Regions from separate parts of the Homo sapiens genome. Here regions 1, 2, 3, 5, 6 and 7 are each linked to region 4. Evidence: promoter capture Hi-C in 16 types of primary human blood cells and fetal thymus (Javierre and others, 2016). All regions are on one chromosome and are shown on one strand. Each heading gives the region's core, a stretch centred on a gene start or on the middle of the fragment in contact. The rest is flanking DNA. Distances are from core to core; before and after follow the strand shown.

Region 1 (3,424 bases), core at 143-2,642, 160 kb after region 4:
AAGCTGGAAACCATCATTCTCAGCAAACTAACACAAGAGCAGAAAACGAAACACCACATGTTGTCACTTATAAGCGGGAGTTGAACAATGAGAAAATGGGGATACAAGGAGGGGAATATCACACACCAGGGCCTTTGGGGGGGTGGAAGCTAGAGGAGGGACAGCATTAGGAGAAATACCTAATGTAGATGACAGGTTGATGGGTGCAGGAAACCACCATGCCGTGTGTACACCTATGTAACAAACCTGCAGTTTCTCCACATGTATCCCAGAACTTAAATTATAAGAACAACAACAAAAAAGAACTATTGTGGCTATCCACACCACTCCTCCACATCCCTATATGCCAAACTACCTCTAAACTCTTATGGAACAAATGGACATCTAGTGTTTTAGAATAATCTTTTCAACTACTACACATCACCTGCTTGTACTTTACTTTGTTATCTATGTAACATTCTTTGTTTAATACCAACCTAGTGTCCAGTCATACTTAGCTTTGTTTGTTTTGATGCATGTGTCTACTACTTTCCAGCCCTTAACCCTATCACAGTCCACTAAACTTGTGTTATACCGAATTTATTTCAAAAATGCTGATCTAAATAATCTAGTTTTCTCATCTGTGGTAGGCAAAATAATGACTCTCCCTCCCATGACACCTGAAGATGTCCACACCCTAATCCCTGGAACCTATAAACATGCTACCTTACATGGCAAAAGAGACTTTGCAGGCATGTTAAAGTTATGTGTTTTGAAATGGAAAGATTGTCCTGGATTATCCCTGTGAGTTCAATCTAATCATATATACCAAGAGAAGCTTTCTTAGCTGAAGTCAGAGAGATGGTACTGAAGAAGATGTAAGGAAGATTGGAAGCATGAAAGAGACTTAACTTGGATTTGTTAGTTTTGAAGATTGAGAAGAGGGGCACAATCCAAGGAATATAGGTGACATCTAGTAATTGGGAAAAGCCCTCGGCTGACAGCCAGCAAGGAAACAGAAACTTCAGTTATACAACCACATGAATTAGATTCTTTAAAATCCTAGATGAGCAAAGTAACAGATTCTCTTCCAGAGCTTCCAGAAAAGAAAACACTCTTGCAAACAACTTGATATTAACCTAATGAGACCTGTGCTGGACTTCTGACCTCCAAAATTGTTACTTTAAGCCAATAAATTTGCGGTAATTTTCTATGGCAGCAATAGAAAATTGCTACATTATTTTACAGATAAGGAGGCAGACCCAGTGAACAGGAATGACTTCCCCAGGGTTACATTACTTGACAAAAGCAGATCTGGGAGTAAAACATTTGAAATATTTTCTACTTAATAGGTATTGCTGTATTTCAGCCATGGTAAATCTGTTTCACATATTGACTATTGCAATTCTCATCTAAGGTAATAATTTCTGGTCATTTATAATGATAAAGGTCTTTAAACAGGAATTTAAATCAAGGATTGTAACACTCACTCTACAAATTGTTCAAACAATTTAAAGAACTAATTTGAGCTAAACTCAACATGCAGCACTGAGCTTGCTGGAATTTGGTGGGAACCCCTCAAATTATGCCTGTTAATAGCCTCAATGCTAGGCAGAAATCAGGAATATGCTAATATTCCTGATCTCAATTAGTTGTCATTTCATTGGCCAATTAGAAACAACTAAAGAGGCTTTTGAGTGTCCATAGAAATTCATACAGATGTGTGCTTCATGTGTTCAGGGACTACAGGACAACAAGATAATGCACAGATACATTCCTAAGGCAATACAGGCTTGTGCATAATGTCTCCGCTTTTTTGTGTAAACAATTGGAAACACACACATAAGTACACATTTAATGCTGCAAACATTGGAGTGGGAACAAAAGAGCTGAGCTGATAATCAGGATTCATTGACTCAGTACATGCATGTGGGCACTCATTCATTCCCCAATACTGGTTCTACCCGTGCACACATACTGTAAGCTTAGGTTTCCTTGCTAGCTTCAGCTGTGGGGTTTAAGCATTTCAGAGGGAAGAAATGGTCAGCAATAGCGTGGGAAGTTCTCTCAGAATGAAGACCAATATCTAAATAAAAGTTTTCTTCCTTAGTGAAAAATAATGACGTTTTTACTACCAGTCATTAGGATTATTACTTGGCATTTTCTATTCAGAAAGGTAAAACTATAACTCATAAAATGATTCAGTCCATCAGGATTTAAATTCAGTGTGTCCAAGACCTGCAAGGGGACATGTCCCTTCTAAATAGCATTACAACTCTTTAAAGATATTAACAAATGTTTAAATTTAAAAAATAGCAAATTCCTATAGAAGTTATTGTTACCAGCAGATAAGCAGCCTAGGTAAGATCAGCCCCAGCAAGGCTTAGTTGGCAATCATGAAGCTGATCTCACACATTCAAAAATAAAAGAGCTTTCCACTGCTCCTACACCTCCCTTTTTCTCAAGACATGATGGCAGGACAACTTCAAACAATGGAACTAATTGACATTGACCCCTGAGAGGTGGGCAAAAGAGAGCTGTATTACATAATTAACCTCACTGGTGTAGACACATGGTGGTTCAGCAGAGATTAACTTCTGGTCCCTAACAATAATAAAATTGAAGTTCATAGGGGCTTTTCCCAGGAATAAAGGCAGGGCTTTTCTGGTCTTTCTGTATCCCATGATCAAGAGATGACTATTCTAGCTTGGACTCAGGAGAATTGGCAATTATTAGAACAACAATGAGAGTAATTAACTTTCATTAAATTTTTTCTATGTGCCAGATACTATACTAGGTACCTTACATAGATTATCTCATGTAATCATCACAATACAGTATGATGTAGATACTACTAGTATCCAGATTATACTGATAATGAAACTGAGCCACAGAGAGGTCCAAGCACTCACAACACATAAACTGTTCAGAATTCAAAACCAGAAACTTGATTCCACTAAATATATGCCTCTCAATACAACCTCTCAAGATATGATTATACTACAACTTTATAATGAAGTATCATTAGATTGATGGCGATGATGACAATAATAAATTTTTATCTTTCTATAAAACTCTTCAGTTTACAAAGGTTTTTTTTTGCATTTCTTTTTGTTGCTTTATTATTTTATTTTCTCAACAATCCTAGGGTTTAGGAGCTATTATCCACATTCATTTCACAAATGAAAAAAAAAATGTTGTTCAGGAAGGTTAAGTACTTTACCCAAAATCATATAGCTAGGCAAGGGCCAAGATAAACTTTGAACTCAAATTGTCTACCTCCCTAACCTGCCTTCTTAACCACTATGCTCTCTGAGCTGAGAAATTTTATCATTGTCACTCTTCTTTCCTGAAGCTGCATCACTGTGCTGCTTCCAATGTAGAAGTAAAATTGGGTAGATTTGGGATCAGCATATTTAAACTCAGAGAGCAAAACGATCTTTAA
Region 2 (3,518 bases), core at 225-2,724, 200 kb before region 4:
AAGCTACAGAGAACACAGGTGCTGGCTGAACCTTGCCCTGAAGATGTCATCAGCTGACTGCAAGGGGCTACCAAGCCCCAAGGCTACAAGGCCAAGGCAGGGAAGGACCGCCCAAAAAAGAATAAGATGAAAAACGGGGAGGAATTGGACACCAGGGAAAAGAGATAATCAGCCACCCACTGCAATATGGAGACAGGGCAGAAAGGAGAGGGAAACGCCAATTTCTCCTCGCAGGGGTCAGCTAGAGTCCTACTAATTTCCTTAGGAAAAGTAAGCCTGTTTTCCCTAACGGTGTCCCCGCGCCCAGCTGACCCTGCCTTCCAGTCTGCTCCTGGAGCAGAAGTGGAGAAAAAGTAAAGAGAATGAAGAAGAAAAAAGTGAAGGGAGAAAAACTCCAAAAGTACACAAAGAATCAGTGAGCAATGAGATTGACAGCGAACTGCAATGCAAAGTGCCTCAGATGGACAGCTGGCAGCACTATGAGTGGCCTCTTGTGGCCTCACAGAGGAAGAGCCACCAGCCAGGAGAAAGCATCAGCCCCTCAAGCCCGGGTCTGCACCGCGTGGGCACAGAGGCCTGTTGGGCCAGGAAGCTGCCCTGCTCCCTGTGGCCCCCACCCCTACCCCATCCTACTGTTGCCGGTTCCCCCAAAGTGACCACATAGATGGGAAGCCCTGCTGTAGGTGAGATGGGTGCTCCTAGGCCAGTTTCTTTTTTTTTTTTTTTTTTTTGGTGTTTGTTTTGGTTTTTGGCACCAAAAACAGAAAGAGGGAAAGAAAATGGGGGAAGGGAAAGACAAGACTGCTGTTTGTGGAGCCACATTGCCATCTAGTGGAAGTTGTTTCTGAACACAACAGGATGCACGGACACCTGCCTTCTGCCAGGAACAGAGATCAGCGAGGATGTGCTTAGACTATGTCTAAGCCTGGGTTTCCCCCACCGGGGTTCTGAGCCCTTGAAGGAAGTGTACCTGGCATTGGGACGCTTTGGAGAAGCAACTACTCTAGAGGCCCCAGGACAGAACAGCCAGGCAGCCCCAAGACCAGTCAGCCCAGAGGGCGGAGCTGGCCCGGCAGCCATGTTGAGATGGACATAAACGAAGCCACTGGCCGAGACGGGGGCCGTTTACTCTGGTGTCTTTTGTGGGGAGTTCCGGGGTTCCCTTGGCTGGAGCCACGTGTTGGCAAGGGGGCCCCGATCCTCCCGGGGAACAAAGGAGCTTCGGGATACTGGAGACGTGGCAACCCAGGACCAGCAGTACCTGGAGATGACCAGGGGAACCCATGGTGGGTCGCCCCTACCTGCCCTTTTTTTCGGAGAGAGCTGTGGAACCAGGGAGGCATCCTGGGAATGAGCACAGGCCAAGGGCCAGCTTGGAGTTCCTCTCTTGTCCTGCTTCAGCCTGGGGGCTCCATGCCGCCATCTCTTTTGCGCTCGTGGGGTTTCCCCAGCACTTGTGCCCAGCTGCCTCCGGTTTCTAGATACAGTTTCCGCTTGATGGCAGTATGGCTCCACAAACGCCAACTACAACTGTAACCCTGCCACTTCAACTCCAGGGCCTCCGCCTTTTCCCATGTGAAAAAAGGTAAAGAGGAAAGAGAAACAAAAAAAAAGACAGAGGAGTGAAAGGAATCAGTCACCTGGTCCCAGATTGATCACCAAACTCATGGGACCGTGTGACCAAGGACCAGGACCAGTAGGCTGGAGATCCTGTGGGAATCCTGTTTAGGGAGCCAGCCTTTGCCCTTCCTTTGGCTCTCTGCAGGTTTCATGGCTCTTGCCCGTGCAGAAAGTAAACAACAAAAAACATGATCATTACTGGGACACCACAGGAGGACTAGGATCATAGGGCTACTGCCCCAGGACAAGGTGCTGGTCACCCAGCTGGCTTACACAAGGTTCTGCTGCAGGACTGGGGGTCCTACGAAAGCCTGGAGCTCCAGGTAGAGTTTACCGCCTTGGGCTGACACATGGAGGTCATCAAAATAGGTGGACTGCTCAACTGGAAACCACAGGGCCTGAAGCAGGAGTATCTCTCAGAGAGGACACTCAGCAACTTGCTCAAGTCTGACTCTGCTCAGGCTGTCCTGGGTTTCACACAGATGGGGGTGGGAGGAGGGTGGCTCAGGGGTGCTGGGGAATGCCACCACACACCACAGATTCTTATGGCATCACACAGGGCCAAGGCTCCCAAGGGAACTCTCTCTGTCTCTAACACAAAGTGAGGTTCCTTTTTAAGCAGCTTGACCCAGGATGCTCCAGTTTTACACCAGCTGCTGGATCCTATCTGTTAACAGACTTCCCACATTGATTCTCAGGAGAAGGCGAGAGTTGCCCATCAATCAATGGCATGATGGCCCAGGCCTGGAGTCAGGAATTCTCCCCTGTCTCCTGTTCCCTTTGCACATTTAGAACCTGTGTGGGAGAAATTGTAGGCAGTCTCGTGCCTGTGGTGGTGTGTATGTGTCTGTGTGGGAGAATGCTTGGGCCTGCACCCCTGTGCCCCTGTGAGGTTTCTTGTTTGTGTGTCTATGTGTGTGTTTGTGTGTGTCTGCATGTGTCTCTGTGTGCGGGTGTGTTTGTGATTTCATTTCTGAGGTCCCTAGTGAGTGTGTGTATGTGTATCTGTGTCTATGGTTTGTGGGTGCCTTCCTGTGTGAGAGTGGGTAAACTGGCACATGGCAGAGACAGCCTGCCTGTATACACTGAAATCCGGATAGTTGTGTTCACATGGCTTGACTGGAAGGAGAGGAAATGGGGGAAAACTTGCTGAGGCTCCTACTGGCCAAGATTACATTATTAGATCGTCTTCAAGGAGAACAAGGTAGAAGGATGAATCGTGAGGTACTGGTAGGAAGTGCATTCAGAATGACATTTCACTTAAAAGTAACACATGGGTGGTTTTTTAGAGGACCAGAGGAACTGAACATGTGACCTTCATCTCTGCTCCTTTCAGAACAAAAGTGAAGCTTTCTCCTTGCCTAGCACGCAGAGGGACATCCCCCATTACCAAGGAGCAGAAGAAGCAGTCTCCATAGAACATTTGTCTCGCCAAGATCTGAAAGTGAAAGGAAAAGAGAGAGGAGGAGGAGGAGGAGGGAAGAAAAGAAGAAGAAAAAGGAGGAGGAGGTGGAAAGAAAGAAAGAAAAGAAAAGAAAAGAGAAAGAAAGAGGAAGAGGAGGAAGAGGAAGAAGAACCAGATGGAGAAAAAGAACAAGAAATGGCAGCTTCATGCCACCTCAGCTGTCCTGAAGGATAGAGTTCATGGGTGCCTCAATGCGTGGTGACATACATAACGAGTGACAAAGAGACAACAGTGACATCCCAGTGAAAGGACACACCACCAAGAAGCTTCTTGTTGATGGGATCCCTTGTGAGTCGGATCAAAAGCTTTGATCCACAAATAGGTCTGCAGGGGCTACAGAGGACAAAGATGCAGGCTAAACCATACCCTCTGGATGTCATCTGCAAACCGCAAGGGGCCACGAGCCCCTAGTCTACAAGGCCAATGAAGGGTA
Region 3 (3,322 bases), core at 484-2,983, 180 kb after region 4:
ACAACACAAAACAAAATCATGTACTTTCTGTGTTTGCTTCCTGTCTTAAAGATTTTTGTTTGTTTTCTTTGGTTCCACCTTATTTCTCCTTTCTCTTTTGCCATCTTTGGTACCAAGAAAATTCTAGAGAAGGCTTCTACTGAATTGAACCTCTTAAAGAACTAGGAACAAAGGTGTCAGTCACCTCTTTTTGGGGTGCTTTGTTTTCTCTGTGGAGTTTCAAGAGTCATGGGCAGATTCTTCTTAGAGCTAAACGGCTGCTTTCCTGTATTGTGTTACCTGACATCTTTGGCTTTTGGGGGTACCAGATATTACCTTGTACTGTGAGAGGATTTGTCCTTGGCATGTGTAATGGCAGAAAATTGCTACAAAGTTAGGGGTGGCTGAGGACAATTTACAGGAAGTAGTCTTAGCTGGTTTTTTTCCTTTTCTTTTCCTCCTAGGAAGTTGTTGTTTAGGATCCCAATTTTAATATAACGGTGCATTCTAAGGAGTCTTCTCCATTGCCTTCTCTCCTGAAATTAATATTGATTCACTTGTCTGAGCATTTGTGTGAGGAACCGAACTGTCATTTTTGTGGATAAAGAAAAGACTGAGTTTTCTCCAAAGAGAAAAGACATTTTGCTCCTCCCAGCCTAAAGGCATCTCTGGGTGAATGAAGGCCAAGTGGGTGTGTCTGGGTGTTGACTCCCCATGACTTGCAGTGACCCTACAGGAAACCCCCAACAAAATTCGTTTAAAAAGGCTCTTCCAGGAAGCACGTATAGGAGCTGGTCATTCTGTGCCTTGAGCCCTCTTGGAGGTGCTAGATCTTTGGAGAGAGAAACTGAGACACATAAGAGGGTAGAAATGACTCAATGGTGAAACAGTGTGGAGTCCCACCCACAGACAGCACACGTCAACCCACTCCACTAAACTCTAGGCCACAAATAATCTTCTAACAACAAAAAAAAAGAACAAGGAGAATGATCTTTCAGATACTATGTTGGTTTTATGGCACTTCTACTTGCAAGTGTTTGTGTAAAATGGACATATTATGGTCTTTTAGTGCACAATTACATCAAGGAAAATTCAGAGCCCAAAGGTTGACCTCCCACTATTAAGTTCATAAGTTCTCTATCTTTCTGCATTTTTTTTCTGTCTACTCTAAGTCTGTTGTTCCTTTTCTACTGAGATAAAATCCACTGTTTGCATCCATTTCTTTTTGTTATTGTTTTTGCAAACCAATGAGTTTTTATTAAAATCTCATGGCCATAATCCTAAAGTAAAGCTATAGAATCTTTGTATGAGTGTGTATTTGTGTGTTTATGTGCATATACATGCATTTTCTTACGTGCTTTTGGCAACAAGATACCAAATTTGGCTTAAACAGAGAGTACTCATAAATTAAATAATAAGCTTAAATGCTTTTCAAGTTCACATTACTTAAGTAAAATCTCCAATAATCTAGCTTTAAAATTATTGGTAAAGTAATATTAAAAATGTCTTAAGAATTTTTATTAATAGCATACATTTTTGTTTACATTTATTGATCAAGAGATTTTATACTTATCCCTGCCAAATACTATAAGGTGTCAAATTTGGCATAAGTGTTATTAAACTATAAGCCCAGCCCAAAACAGAATGTTCTTTGCTTGTGTAATGTTTGATAAATAAGAGATTAATATTAATTTAATGAAAATAGCTAAATCTTGAATTATTTGGCAAAATAATAATATATTTAATGTTAAGGCTCTTACTTAGGTAGACACCTGAAATTCATAGGCTATAAAATGATTGACAGGAAAAGAAATTTAAATAATGGTTATCACAGTTTTTATAAATAATTTAGGTAAACTATTGAAATAAAATAATTAGGTAAATCTAATGGGATAAGTACTTGTCCCATTAGATTTATATCTAATGGGATAAGCATTATAATCTAGAATCTAAAGTTAAATTAAATAATAGGTATTTCACTAAATATCTGGGTAATTTACAATTAAAAAAATATATTGTAGAAAAACATTCTAACATAATGTGTGTTCTTGTTAAAAGATGAATATTTTTTGTCTAATTAAAAGCTTATTTAGCTCTCCCTCTCCCTCTCCCTCTCCCTCCTCTCCCCACGGTCTCCCTCTCCCTCTCTTTCCACAGTATCCCTCTGATGCTGAGCCGAAGCTGGACAGTACTGCCGCCATCTCTGCTCACTGCAACCTCCCTGCCTGATTCTCCTGCCTCAGCCTGCCAAGTGCCTGTGATTGCAGGCGCGCGCCGCCACGCCTGACTGGTTTTCGTGTTTTTTTGGTGGAGATGGGGTTTTGCTGTGTTGGCCGGGCTGGTCTCCAGCTCCTAACCGTGAGTGATCCTCCAGCCTCGGCCTCCCGAGGTGCCGGGATTGCAGACGGAGTCTCGTTCACTCAGTGCTCAATGTTGTCCAGGCTGGAGTGCAGTGGCGTGAACTCGGCTCGCTACAATCTCCACCTCCCAGCCACCTGCCTTGGCCTCCCAAAGTGCCGAGATTTCAGTCTCTGCCTGGCCGCCACCCTGTCTGGGAAGTGAGAAGCATCTCTGCCCGGCCGCCCATCGTCTGGGATGTGAGGAGCCCCTCTGCCCGGCTGCCCAGTCTGGGAAGTGAGGAGCGCCTCTTCCCGGCCGCCTTCCAATCTAGGAAGTGAGGAGCGTCTCTGCCCAGCTGCCGATCGTCTGAGATGTGGGGAGTGCCTCTGCACCGCTGCCCCGTCTGGGATGTGAGGAGTGCCTCTGACAGGCGGCGACCCTGTGTGGGAACTGAGGAGTGTCTCTGCCCGACCGCCACCCCGTCTGGGAGATGAGGAGCGTCTCTGCCCAGCCGCCCCATCTGAGAAGTGAGGAGCCCCTCCTCCCGGCAGCTGCCCCATCTGAGAAGTGAGGAGCCCCTCTGCCCGGCAGCTGCCCCATCTGAGAAGTGAGGAGTGTCTCCGCCTGGCAACCACCCCGTCTGGCAGCCACCCCGTCTGGGAGGGAGGTGGGGGGCAGCCCCCGCCCGGCCAGCCGCCCCGTCTGGGAGGGAGGTGGGGGGCCAGCCCCCACCTGGCCAGCCACCCCATCCAGGAGGGAGGTGGGGGGCCAGCCCCCACCCGGCCAGCCACCCCACCCAGGAGGGAGGTGGGGGGTCAGCCCCTGCCCGGCCAGCCTCCCCGTCCGGGAGGGAGGTGGGGGGTCAGCCTCCGCCCGGCCAGCCGACCCGTCTGGGAGGTGGGTTGCGCCTCTGCCCGCCCGCCCCTTCTGGGAAGTGAGGAGCCCCTCTGCCCGGCCACCACCCCATCTGGGAGGTGTAACCAACAGCTCATTGAGAATGGGC
Region 4 (3,363 bases), core at 1-2,500:
TCGTGCTGGTAGTTGCAGAACTCTGGGTAGCTGGCGGTGGTGCCCATGGATTGGGTAGTGGATCGCGATTTTCTGTGCGGGAAGGCTGCGTACCTTCCCCAGAGGAGGAACTACTCCCCACGGAGGCAAATGGATTACCCCCAAACTGCTCTTGTGCGGCATTCAGCATCGGCTCTTGAATGTCAGTGTACATGCGCCGTAAAGCATTATAGCCACCTGGGATGCTTTCTAGATTGCTAAGAGCCAGGTCTTGATTTCTCATCATCTCTTGCATCATGGCTGGATTCCTGGCAATTTCGAGTGTCTGCCTCATTATGTCTGGGTTGTTGAGCAGGTGACTGATTTCTGGGTTTCTCTGAATCAATTGCTGCATCTGTGGATTAGCCATAATGAGCTGCCTCATCAGATCGGGATTCGAAAGCATGCTCTGAACAAAGGGATTTTCCATTATTTGGATCATCATCTCAGGGCTGGCCATAAGCTGCTGCTGCATCTGGCTCTGGAGCTCAGAGAAGTTGGTCGAGCTCAAGCCCAGGCTGCTAAGGCCTGCAAGTCCTCCCAGGCTCCCCAACCCAAACGGGTTGCTATTTGTGGAAATAGGTGTGGAGTTACTCCTGGGAGTCGACGCCGAGGTAGTGTTAGTTCCCGCGGCATTGCTAGGCTGCGTGGACTGGCCCTGAGGTCGGTTCTGGCTTTTGATGACAAGGTGAACAGTCAGCCCATCATGGATGCCATGCTGGATCAAGGTATCTTGATCTTTTAAGATTTTTCCGGCAAAAATCAGCACTAGCTGATCGGTTTGGGATTTGAAGCGTTTCGAAATCGCTTCCTTAAACTGCTGAACCGAGCTGTTCTCGGGCACCGCGAACTCCTCTTTCTCTTTGGGAGTCTTCACCGTGACTTTGATGATTTTAGGCTCAGCCGGGGCAGCAGCCGAGCCTTGGGCCGCAGCAGGGCCGCGGGAGGGGCGCGGGGGGCCGCTGCTCTCGCCATTCTCAGCCATGGCGGCCGCGGTGACGCAGGCGGGCAGGGAAGGCGCGGGCGGGCGAAAGAGAGAGCGCGAGGGAAGGAGGAAGGAAGGAGGCACCGCCGCAGCGGGCTGGGCCGGGTCAGGCGGGGAGCGCGGAGCACGGTACCTCTGTGATGAAGACTGCGGTTCCCTGGTCCTCCGGTGGAGAAAGGCCTGGGCGTAGGCCGCTGGCTGAGGTCTCCGCGCTCCGGTCTCTGGGCCTCCTCCGCCGCCGCCTTGTGATCCGACCGCGCGCACTCCCAGCAACTCTGGCAGCCGCTCCGCCTGCTGATCCCCGCCCCTTCCCCTCCCCCAGTTCCGCGCTCGCCTCCCCGCCCCCTCTGCTGACGCGGCGCCAGGCCTAGATTGATAGATTTGGCTCGGTCAAAATTAAAAACTTCTGCACTGAAAAGAAAAAAGGGAGAGAGAGAAACAAAGGGAGAGAGAGAAGAGAACAGAACAGTACAGAGCAGGCGAGGCAGAGAGGGTGAGACGGAGAGAAGGAGGCGGTAGAGAGTCAGCTTCTGTAAACGACATTAAAAGACCAATGGAGAATGTATATTAGCAATCTGTAAGGCAGTAAAAGGGTGAAAGCCTGAATCGAACAGATCCCACGTATAAGACGAAAAATGAATAATAAAGAACTCTGACAAAGCAAAAAGAAAAGAGGAACACCTCCAGTAGGGGAAGGGAAGAAGACAGAGCAGGAGCGTGCATTTTACAAAAGGAGTGCAAATGGCCAATAGACATTAAAAAAGGATGATTAATTTCACTACTAATAAAAAGAAATCAAGTTAAAACAATAAAATTCTACTTTTGGCTTATCATATTGGCAGGGAAAAAAATAATGGTAAACCTTCTTGTTGACAGGGACCCTAAAAAATGCCCTCTCAGGCTAGCTGAAGTGTGAATTGTTACAACCATAGGGCAATTTGAAAATATATATCAGCATTTTGAATGTTTCCACCTTTATTTAGAAATGCCTAACCTAGACACTTCGCCTAATAATCGGATGAGGATGCAAAAATATTTATGTATAAAATGTATATACATTGTAGCATTTTAAAATGTTATTTAAATATATTAACTATCTGTTTACATGAGATTAGTTGAGCACATTATCATATTACCATACAAGAAAATATAGAGTGTCTTTAAAGGTATACATGAAATAAACTGTAGTTATAGGGAAATCACAGAGTATTTTCAATTATGCCTTTGTATATTTCTGTACAGTTACAAACTATATAAGAATATATGTTCCAATATCAAAAATACAATAAATATATTTTTATTTTAAAAGCAATTTTTGAACAGTTTGTTGTATATGTAAACCGTATGTGTAAAAAAATCTGGAAGGCTATGCACAAATAAGTTAATGGCTGTTAGTACTGTTTGCTGAAATTATGAATAATTCTTATTTTCTATTTTCATAAGATTTTGAATTTTCTGATGATTTTTGTAAGTATGCACTACAGAAAGGTATTTTGGGGAAGAGTATGGGTAGAAATTGACAGGCACATAATAGTAGTGGCAAACATTGACATATTTACCTAATTTAATTACAGATTAAGTAAGAGCAATAAAGATGTAGCAATGCTGAGAAAGAGAACTTGAAAAATAGAAGAAATAATTTCAAATTTATCTATATATTTCTAACTCTAGGTTAAACCACACAGAAAATTCTTCCCCAACCCCCACCCTCTACCAAGCATCCACCAAAGCACCACTGCTTTCAACATTTAACAGCATTTCAAAGTCATTAGGTCACAAATACTTTAATAAATCTGAAGATAAGAAAAATATATATATACAGGTATGTTATATCCATCGATGGAGAAATGGAAGAATTAATATTATTTTACCTCTCTATTTTATTAATATAATTAATAAAATACAGAGGTAAAAAGATGACTAGCTTTAAATATGTTAATATGTATAGATCTAAAAAGCCAAATTAATTAGTATTAGGTTGATGCAAAAGTAATTGCGGTTTTTGCCATTGAAAGTAACGAATTGTTACTATTATACAATGGTTTTTGCCATTGAAAGTAATAGCAAAAACCGCAATTACTTTTGCACCAACCTAATACATGCCAAACAGCACTCTAATACATTCTTATGTATATTTGAAATATTCTTTTAGAAATATACCAAACTTGCACCCATGAGGAAGAGGAAATGGAATAGGATACAGGATAGTGAGTAAAGGGAACTTAAATATGTAAAAATGCTTTTTATCTTTAAAATGAAAGCAAATATGATAAAATATCAGCAATAGTTAATTATGGGTGGTGAGAATATGAAAATATTATAGGTAATCTTTAATTTCCATAGAATAAAGCTAGATATTA
Region 5 (3,169 bases), core at 89-2,588, 180 kb before region 4:
AAAATATTGTCCAATTTTTATCCTCCATTCTCATCCCATCTCGTATGCCAGCTACCCTCAACTTGGCACTTCCTAGTAACTCTTCAACCCACTGTAATCTGGCCTCTGCTCTCACAACACGGAAACCGTTAATGCTAAATTCACCAATAAACTTAATTTACAAATTAATAAATATTTTTCAGTACTGAACCCTCTAATGTATATTATGTTGCTGTTCACTACATTTTTCTTAATCGGCATCAGACTTTTTCAGGTTTCCCCCTCATCCTATTACTCCTTTATCTGTTCATCTTTCTCTAGATAATCCTTAAATGTTAGTGGTCCCCAGAATTTCCTTCTCAATCCATAACTTTTCTCTATATATACCTTCTTCTAGATTATTTAATTTACTCTCCTGGTTTTATCTATCACCTTTATGCTGATGGTTATCTAAATATATTTATATGGACAACACTTCTCTTGCAATCTCAGATCTTTACCTGCTTGCCAGGAACCTCCATCTAGGTATCTTACTGAAAATGTTGAAAACCTGCTCTTTTTCTTGTATTCTATAACTCAGTTAGTGATTTCATGTAATACTCAAGCCACATACTTGAGAACTACCCTCTATTATTCTGTTTCCCTTGACATCCCATCTGTGATTGTCTTTTGATGTGTTAATTTGGCTAGGCTAGAGTCCTCAGTTATTCAATTTAACTAGGTTTTGCTGTGAAGCTATTTTGTAGATGTGATTACTGTCTATAATCAGTTAACTTTAAGTAAAGGAGATTATCCTAAATAATTTGGGTAGACCTGATTCAATCAGCTGATGGACCTTAAGACCAGAGCTAAGGTCTCCCTGAATAAATTTAACCTGAGGACATCAGCTTCAGCCCATGTCCAGGAGTTCCAGTCTGTCCTTCCTGAAAGCCCACTCCACAGATTTCAGGCTTGCCTACACAGCCCCCACAAGCCAATTCTTTATAATACATTTCTTAATATATATCTCCTACTGGTTCTATTTCTCTGGTTGAACCCTGATTGATACACCATCTAATCAATAATACTTCATAAAACTTTCTCAAATTCACTGATCTGTGCTCCATCCCAACTACCATTGGCTGAGTTCAAGCCTTCATCACTTTTTGTCGGGATTTTCATACAAGCATCTTAAATGATCTTCTTACCCCAATCTTGCTCTACTATACTATCCTCCACATGGCCACTAGTATGACCTATATAAAATATAAATGTGAACACAGCACTCTCTTTCAAGATTGTCAGTCACATCCCATTTCCTACAGATCTATCTTGAGCCTTTGTAGTGCACAAAGTCTTCATGTTTATGCTTCAGCTTGCTGATCTAGCTCCATCTCTCCACTCCAGGAAAACTACCTACCATACATCTCACCTCCTCCAAAAACCAGCCTACCTCGAGTTCTGTAACTTTGGTCATTATTTTCTCACTGCTTGAAGTTCTTTACCCATCTACAATCATCCATCCTTACTTAGTACCTCATTTCATTTCAAAGACTGAGCTTAGATATTGATCAATACAGGAGGCCATTCCTGGCTCTTCTAGTCTTGCTCATGTGCCTTCTTGTATTCTCTTATAGAACTCTGTGCCAATCTCTATCTACAGAACTTACCAAACCAGTTTATGAACTCCTTGGTGAGTTAGATGTTATATTTTTGTAACCCTGGCACATAAAACAATGCCTGGAATTTAATACATGCTCAATTTAATAGGCATTCTTTAATATTTGTGTTGGTTGAATAAAAGAATGGATGAATCACACACTCGGTGTCAGGTTATGGCTTGCTGCTATAATAAAATCTGTGGTAGGCAAAATGATGGCCACCCAAAGATGTCCACACCACAATTACAAGAATCCATGACTATGTTATTTTACAAGGCAAAAGGAACTTTACTGATGTGATTAAGTTAAGGATCTTGAGATGGGGGAGAATATTCTGAATTATTTGGGTGGGCATACTCTAATTGCATATATCTTTAAAAGCATATCATCTGAGTCAGTGAAAGATGTAATGACAAAAGAAAATGGAGAAATTCTAAGTATGAGAGGGACTCAATTTGCCATGGTTGGCTTTGAAGATGGAGAAAAGAGATGACAATCTAAGGAATTTGGGTGGCCTCTAGAAGCTAGGAACAGCTCTTAGCTCATAGCCAGCAAGAAAGGGATCTCAGATCTACAGATCTACAGTGGCAAGGAACTGAGATCTACAGATCTCAGATCTACAGTGGCAAGGAACGGAATTCTGCCAATAACCAAATGAGCAGGACATATCCCCCCAGAGCCTCTAGAAAGGAATGCAGCCAGCCAACAGCTTGACTTCTCATCAGGTCTGATGAGACCCATAGCAGGCTTCTGGCCTCCAGAACTATAATAAATATGTTCTTTTAAATTTCTAAATTTGTGATCATTTTGTTATGGTAGAAATATAAAACTAATACAGAATCCATGCAATAAAATCTGGCTTATCTTCCCAGAGACAGAAGACCCAGATGCTATGATAACATGTCAGGAGGTAAGAATAACAGGAGAGGAACTCGATCATATCATATTTGCCTCTTAAAAATGATCAATATAGAGTAGTATGAGAAAGTCTTTATACAATGAGAGGGAGAAAAGTGACCAAGTCATAGGAAAAAGTACTTAAGGAGACTGCACATGAAGCTGCTGAAAAAAAAAACTTTATTCCCTATTGAGTTGATTGTGAAAGTTTGTGAATACACAGACAGACAACCAACCGGACTAAGTAAATGCTCTGAAGTAGGAAAATGTGATGGCAGAACAGATATAGAAACTCCTCTTCATGCTGAGCATTTCTGTAAACAGGTAACCTAGACATGGAATATGGTGCAAATTATAAACCATAATTTGACCCGTGTCCAGAAAAGTAACTTTCTTAAGGGGGAAGTAAAAAATACCCACCTAGCTATCTGTAAAATCCCCAAAGGTATCTATGCTCTTGGGATAAACTAGAATTTTGTGCCTAAGAAGGACAGAACATCGCCCATGTAGTCTTCTTGCTAAAAACGCTTAAACTAATCATGGGAAAACAATCAGACACATTTCATACTGTGAGACATATAGAGGAAAACTACCTGGACTCATCAAAAATGGCAACGTCACAAAAAAAGGACAAGAAAAAAAAAGGGAGGGTG
Region 6 (3,204 bases), core at 58-2,557, 220 kb after region 4:
ATCTTGAGTTGCTTTTTCTATACAGTGAGAGATGAGGATCCAGTTTCATTCTCCTACGTGTGGCTAGCCAATTATCTCAGCATCATTTGTAGAAATGGTTGTCCTTTCCCGACTTTATGTTTCTGTTTGCTTCACCAAAGATGAAACTGTAAATATTTGGGTTTATTTCTGGGTTCTCTATTCTGTTCCATTGGTCTATGTCCCTATTTTTATACCAGTACCACACTGTTTTGGTGACTATGGCCTTATATTATAGTTTGAAATCAGGTAGTGTGTTGTCTCCAGATTTGTTCTTTTTGCTTAGTCTTGATTTGGCTATGTGGGCTCTTATTTTGGTTCCATATGAATTTTAGAAATGTTTTTTCTAATTCTGTGAAGAATGATGGTGGTATTTTAATGGGAATTGCATTGAATTTGTAGATTGCTTTTGGCAGTTTGGTCATTTTCACAATATTCATTCTACTCATCCATGAGCATGGGATGTGTTTCCATTTGTTTCTGTCATCTATGACTTCTTTCAGTAGGGTTTTGTAGTTTTCCTTGTAGAGGTATTTTGACTCCTTGGTTAAGTATATTCTTAAGTTATTGTTGTTGTTGTTTTGTTTTGTTTTTTGCAGCTATTGTAAAAGGAGTTGAGTTCTTGATTTGATTCTCTGTTTGATCGCTGTTGGGGTATAGAAGAGCTACTGATCTGTGTGCATTAATCTTTTATCAGGAAACTTTGCTGAATTCTTTGATCAGTTCTAGGAGCTTTCTGGAGGAGTCTTTAGGTTTTTCAAGGTAAACAGTCACATCATCAGCAAACTGTGACAGTTTGACTTCCTCTTTACTGATTTGGATTCCCTTTATTTCTTTCTCTTGTCTGCTTGCTCTGGCTAGGACTTCCAGTACTATGTTGAAGAGGAATGGTGAGAGTGGGCATCCGTATCTTATTCCCGTTATCAGAGAGAATGCTTTCAACTTTTCCTGATTAAGTATTAAGTTGACTGTGGGTTTATCATAGATGGTTTTTATTACATTGACGTATGTCCCTTGTATGCCGATTTTGCAGAGAGCTTTAATCATAAAGAAATGTTGGATTTTATTGAATGCTTTTTCTGCATCTATTGAGATGATCATGTGATTTTGTTTTTAATTCTGTTTTATCACATTTATTGACTTGCGTATGTTAAACCATCCCTGCATCCCTGGTTTGAAACCCACTTGATCATGGTGGACTATCTTTTTAATATATTGTTGGGTTTGGTTAGCTAGGATTTTTTTAAGGATTTTAATATCTATGTTCATCAAGGATATCAGTGTGTAGTTTTGTTTTATTTTGTTTTGTTTGTTGTTGTTTTGTTTTGTTGTTTTGTTATGTCCTTTCCTAGTTTTGATATTAGGGTAATGCTGGCTCATAGAATGAATTAGGGAGGGTGTCTTCTTTCGCTTTCTTGTAGAATAGTGTCAAAGGTTCGTACCAATACTTCTTTGAATGTCTGATAGAATTCTGCCATGAATCTGTCTGGTCCTGGACATTTTTTTGTTGGTAATTTCTTAATTACCATTTCAATCTCTCTGCCTATATTGGTCTGTTCAGGGTATTTAATTCTTGCTGATTTAAACTAGCAAGGTTGTATTTTTCCAGGAATTTATCCATCCCTTCTAGGTTTTCTAGTTTATGTGCATAAAGGTTTTCATAGTAGCCTTGATGATCTTTTGTATTTCAGTGGTTTCAGCTGTAATACCTCCTGTCTTGTTTTTTAGTGAAGTTATTTTGATTTTCTCTCTTCTTTTCTTGGTTCATCTTGCTAATGGCCTATCAATTATATTTATTTTTTCAAAGAACCAGCTTTTTGTTTCATTTATTTTTGTATTTTCTTTGTTTCAATCTCATTTAGTTCTGCTGTGATTTTGGTTATTTTCTTTCTTCTCTCTGGCTTGGGTTTGGTTTGTTCTTGTTTCTCTACTTCCCTGAGGTGTGACCTATAATGTCAGCTTTTGCTTTTTCAGTCTTTTTGATGTAGGCATTTAGGGCTATGAAGTTTCCTTTTAGCACCACCTTTGCTGTATCCCAGAGGTTTTGATAGGTTGTGTCATTATCGTCGTTCAGTTCAAAGAATTTTCCAATTTCCATCTTGATTTTGTTTTTGACCCAATGCTCATTTGGGAGCAGGTTATTTAATTTCATGTATTTGCATGGTTTTGAAGGTTTTTTTTGTAGGTGATTTCCAATTTTATTCCACTGTGGTCTCAGAGAGTGCTTGATATAATTTAAATTTTCTTAGATTTATTGAGGCTTGTTTTATGGATTATCATAGGGTCTATCTTGGAGAAAGTTCCATGTGCTCTTGAATAGAATATGTATCCTGCAGCTGTTGGATAAAATGTTCTGTATATATCTGTTAAGTCCATTTGTTCCAAGGTATGGTTTAAATCCATTGTTTCTTTGTTGACTTTCTGTCTTGATGTCCTGTTTAATGCTGTCAGTGGAGTATTGAAGTCCCCCACTATTATTGCGTTACCGTCTATCTCATTTCTTAGATCTGTTAGTAATTGTTTTATAAATTTGGAAGCTCCAGTGTTAGGTGTATATATGTTTAGGATTGTGATATTTTCCTGTTTGACCATGTCTTTTACCATTATATAATGTCCCTTTTGTCTTTTTTAACTGCTGTTGCTTTAAAGTTTGTTTTGTCTGATATAAGAATAGCTACTGTTAGGGGATTTTAATATCTGACTTTCAACAATGGATAGATCACCCAGATAGAAAATCAATAAGGAAACATAGGAATTCAACCTTTCACTTTAGAACAAATGGATCTAACAGACATATATAGGACATTTCATTTAACAGCAGAAAAATACACATTCTTCTCAAGTACACATAAAACATTCTCTAGAATAGATTACATTTTAGGACACAAAACAACTCTTAAAGAATGTAAGAAGATTGAAATTCTATCAAGTATCTTTTCTGACCACAATGGTATGAACCTAGAAATCAGTAACAAAAGAAATTTGAGAAAAATCACAAATATATGACAATTAAACTATATGTTCCTGAACAATAAACCGTTCAAAGAAAAAATTAAAAGAAATTTTTTAAAATCTTAAGGCAAATGAAAATGGAGACATAGCTTACCAAATCTTATAAAATGCAGCAAAAACATGTTCTAAGGAGGAAGTTTAGCTCTATGGGGCCAAGGTGGTCAATTAGAAGCA
Region 7 (3,100 bases), core at 380-2,879, 200 kb after region 4:
GGACACCAAAAGCTAGCAGGAATAACTATTCTTATATCAGGAAAAACAAACCTTAAAGCAACAGCAGTTAAAAGAGACAAAGAGGGACATTATATAATGGTAAAAGGCCTTGTCCAACAGGAAAATATCACAACCCTAAACATATATGCACCTAATACTGGAGCTCCCAAATTTATAAAACAATTACTAATAGATCTAAGAAAAGAAATAGACAACAACACAATAATAGTAGGAAACTTCAATACTCTGCTAACAGCACTAGACAGGTCATCAAGACAGAAAGTCATCAAAGAAACAATAGATTTAAACTACACCTTGGAATAAATGGGCTTAACAGATGTGTACAGAACATTTCACCCAACAACAGCAGAATATACATTCTATTCAACAGTGCCTGGAACTTTCCCTAAGACAGACCATGTAATAGGCCATAAAGCAAGCCTCAATAAATTTAAGAAAATTGAAATTACATTAAGCACTCTCTCAGACCACAATGGAATAGAACTGGAAATCAGCTCCATAAGGAACCTTCAAAACCATGAAAATACATGGAAAATAAATAACCTGCTCCTGAATGACCACTAAGTCAAAAACGAAATCAAGATGGAAATTAAAACATTCTTTGAACTAAATGACAATGAAGACACAATGTATCAAAATCTCTAGGATAAGCAAAAGCTAAGAGGAAAGTTCAGAGCCTTAAATGCCTATATCAGAAAGTCTGAAAGAGCACAAACAGACAATCTAAGGTCACACTTCAAGGAACTAGAGAAACAAAAACAAACCAAACCCAAACCCAGCAGAAGAAAGGAAATAACCAAGATCAAAGCAGAACTAAAAGAAATTGAAACAAAAAATACAATACAAAAGATAAATGAAACAAAAAGCTAGTTCTCTGAAAGATAAATAAAATTGATAGATCGTTAGCAAGATTAACCAAGAAAAAAGAAAGAAACCCAAATAACCTCACTAAGAAATGAAACAGGAGCTATTACAACTGACGCCACTGAAATATAGAACATCATTCAAGGCTACTATAAACACCTTTATGCACATAAACTAGAAGACCTAGAAGAGATGGATAAATTCTTGGAAAAATACAACCTTCCTAGCTTAAGTCAGGAAGAATTAGATACCCTAAACAGACCAATAAAAAGCAGCAAGATTGAAATGGTAATTAAAAAATTACCAACAAAAAAAGTCCAGGACCTGACAGATTCACAGCAGAATTCTACCAGACATTCAAAGAATTGGTACCAATCCTTTTGACACTATTCCACAAGATAGAAAAAGAAGGAACATTCCCTAATTCATTCTATGAAACCAGTATCACCCTAATGCCAAAACCAGAAAAGGACACCACCAAAAAAGAAAACTACAGACTGATATTCTTGATGAACACAGATGCTAAAATCCTTAACAAAATACTAGCTAACCAAATTCAATAGCATATCAAAAAGATAATCCACCATGATAAAGTGAGTTTCATACAAGGGATGTAGAAATTGTTTAACAAGTCAATAAATGTGATTCATCACATAAACAGAATTAAAAATGAAAATCACACAATTATCTCAGTAGATGCAGAAAAAGCATTCGACAAAATCCAGCATTGGTTTGTAATTAAAACTATCAGCAAAATCAGCATAGAAGGGACATACATTGATGTAATAAAAGCTATCTATGACAAACCCACAGACAACGTAATACTTAATCAGGAAAAGTTGAAAGCATTCCCTCTGAGAATGGGAACAAGACAAGGATGCCCACTCTCACCACTCCTCTTCAACATAGTACTGGAAGTCCTAGCCAGAGCAATCAGACAAGAGAAAGAAATAAAGGGCATCTAAATCAGTAAAGAGGAAGTCAAACTGTCACTGCTGATGATATGACCGTTTACCTTGAAAATCTTAAGGACACCTCCAGAAAGCTCCTAGAACTGATCAAAGAATTCAGCAGTTTAATTAATGTACACAAATCAGTAGCTTTTCTATACACCAACAGCAACCAAGCCGAGAATCAAATCAAGAACTCAACCCCTTTTACAATAGCTGCAAAAAAAAAAAAAAAACTACTTAGGAATATACCTAACAAAGGAGTCGAAAGACCTCTACAAGGAAAACTTCATAACACTGCTGAAAGTTATCATAGATGACAGAAACAAATGGAAACACATCCCGTGCCCATGGATGGGTAGAATCAATATTGTGAAAATGACCATGCTGCCAAAAGCAATCCAGAAATTCAATACAATCCTCATCAAAATATCCCCATCATTCTGCACAGAATTAGAAAAAACTATTCTAAAATTCATCTGGAACAAAAAAAAAGAGCCTGCATAGCCAAAGCAAGACTAAGCAAAAAGAACAAATCTGGAGGCCTCACACTACTATACTATAGTATAGTAGCATCCAAACTATACTATAGGGCCATAGTCACACAAACAGCATGGTACTGATATAAAAATAGGCACATAGACCAATGGAACAGAATAGAGAACCCCAAAATAAAGCCTAGTACTTACAGCTAACTGATCTTCGACAAAGCAAACAAAAAACATAAAGTGGGGAAAGGACACCCTTTTCAACAAATGGTGCTGAGATAATTGGCAAGCTACATGTAGGAGAATAAAACTGGATCCTCATCTCTCATCTTATACAAAAACCAACTCAAGATGGATTAAGAACTTAACCCTAAGAACGGAAACCATAAAAATTCTAGAAGATAACATTGGAAAAACCCTTGTAGACATTGGCTTAAGCAAGGATTTCACGACCAAGAATCCAAAAGCAAATGTAATAAAATCAAAGATAAATAGCTGGGGCGTAATTGAACTAAAGAGTTTTGCATGACAAAAGGAACAGTCAGCAGAGTAAACAGACAACCTACAGAGTGGGAGGAAATCTTCACAATCTATACATCTGACAAAGGACTAATATCTGGAATATACAACAAACTTAAATCAGTAAGAAAAAAAAATTCAAACAATCCCATTAAAAAGTGGACTAAGGACTTGAACAGACAATTCTCAAAAGGACATATACAATTGGCCAACAAACATATGAAAAAATGCTCAACATCACTAATGATGAAGAAAATG

What was found. The method cuts DNA at HindIII sites, captures the fragments that hold promoters and counts their contacts. A CHiCAGO score of 5 or more calls a contact.
Region 1: a contact is called between a fragment that was not itself captured here and the fragment with the promoter of UBQLN2 in region 4, in 4 of 17 cell types (activated CD4 T cells, naive CD8 T cells, naive CD4 T cells and 1 more). The highest score is 7.0, in activated CD4 T cells.
Region 2: a contact is called between a fragment that was not itself captured here and the fragment with the promoter of UBQLN2 in region 4, in 1 of 17 cell types (non-activated CD4 T cells). The highest score is 5.4, in non-activated CD4 T cells.
Region 3: a fragment that was not itself captured here is called in contact with the fragment with the promoter of UBQLN2 in region 4 in 5 of 17 cell types (naive CD4 T cells, non-activated CD4 T cells, total CD4 T cells and 2 more); the score reaches 9.0 in naive CD4 T cells.
Region 5: a fragment that was not itself captured here is called in contact with the fragment with the promoter of UBQLN2 in region 4 in 1 of 17 cell types (non-activated CD4 T cells); the score reaches 5.3 in non-activated CD4 T cells.
Region 6: a contact is called between a fragment that was not itself captured here and the fragment with the promoter of UBQLN2 in region 4, in 4 of 17 cell types (non-activated CD4 T cells, naive CD4 T cells, total CD4 T cells and 1 more). The highest score is 6.5, in non-activated CD4 T cells.
Region 7: a contact is called between a fragment that was not itself captured here and the fragment with the promoter of UBQLN2 in region 4, in 3 of 17 cell types (naive CD8 T cells, total CD4 T cells and naive CD4 T cells). The highest score is 6.7, in naive CD8 T cells.

The regions. Positions count from the first base shown.
Region 1 is chrX:56,401,832-56,405,255 of GRCh38, reverse strand. No RefSeq gene overlaps it. Among named protein-coding and RNA genes, the nearest start is that of UBQLN2, 160 kb to the left of the region's middle. The HindIII fragment of the contact is 1,146 bases long and covers 820-1,965 here.
Region 2 is chrX:56,761,916-56,765,433 of GRCh38, reverse strand. The region is part of intron 2 of NBDY (negative regulator of P-body association); the gene reads right to left. Among named protein-coding and RNA genes, the nearest start is that of NBDY, 34 kb to the right of the region's middle. RefSeq lists enhancers at 818-1,177, 1,173-1,674, 1,638-1,757, 1,778-1,827. The HindIII fragment of the contact is 2,994 bases long and covers 1-2,971 here.
Region 3 is chrX:56,379,965-56,383,286 of GRCh38, reverse strand. No RefSeq gene overlaps it. Among named protein-coding and RNA genes, the nearest start is that of KLF8, 150 kb to the right of the region's middle. The HindIII fragment of the contact is 665 bases long and covers 1,401-2,065 here.
Region 4 is chrX:56,561,514-56,564,876 of GRCh38, reverse strand. UBQLN2 (ubiquilin 2) reads right to left here and starts at 1,250. Exons shown (of 1, transcript NM_013444.4): 1 at 1-1,250. The coding sequence starts at 1,003. RefSeq lists enhancers at 254-313, 324-523, 920-1,547. The HindIII fragment of the contact is 11,191 bases long and covers 1-3,363 here.
Region 5 is chrX:56,745,724-56,748,892 of GRCh38, reverse strand. The region is part of intron 2 of NBDY (negative regulator of P-body association); the gene reads right to left. Among named protein-coding and RNA genes, the nearest start is that of NBDY, 18 kb to the right of the region's middle. The HindIII fragment of the contact is 5,918 bases long and covers 1-3,169 here.
Region 6 is chrX:56,344,081-56,347,284 of GRCh38, reverse strand. No RefSeq gene overlaps it. Among named protein-coding and RNA genes, the nearest start is that of KLF8, 110 kb to the right of the region's middle. The HindIII fragment of the contact is 8,181 bases long and covers 1-3,204 here.
Region 7 is chrX:56,363,168-56,366,267 of GRCh38, reverse strand. No RefSeq gene overlaps it. Among named protein-coding and RNA genes, the nearest start is that of KLF8, 130 kb to the right of the region's middle. The HindIII fragment of the contact is 9,077 bases long and covers 1-3,100 here.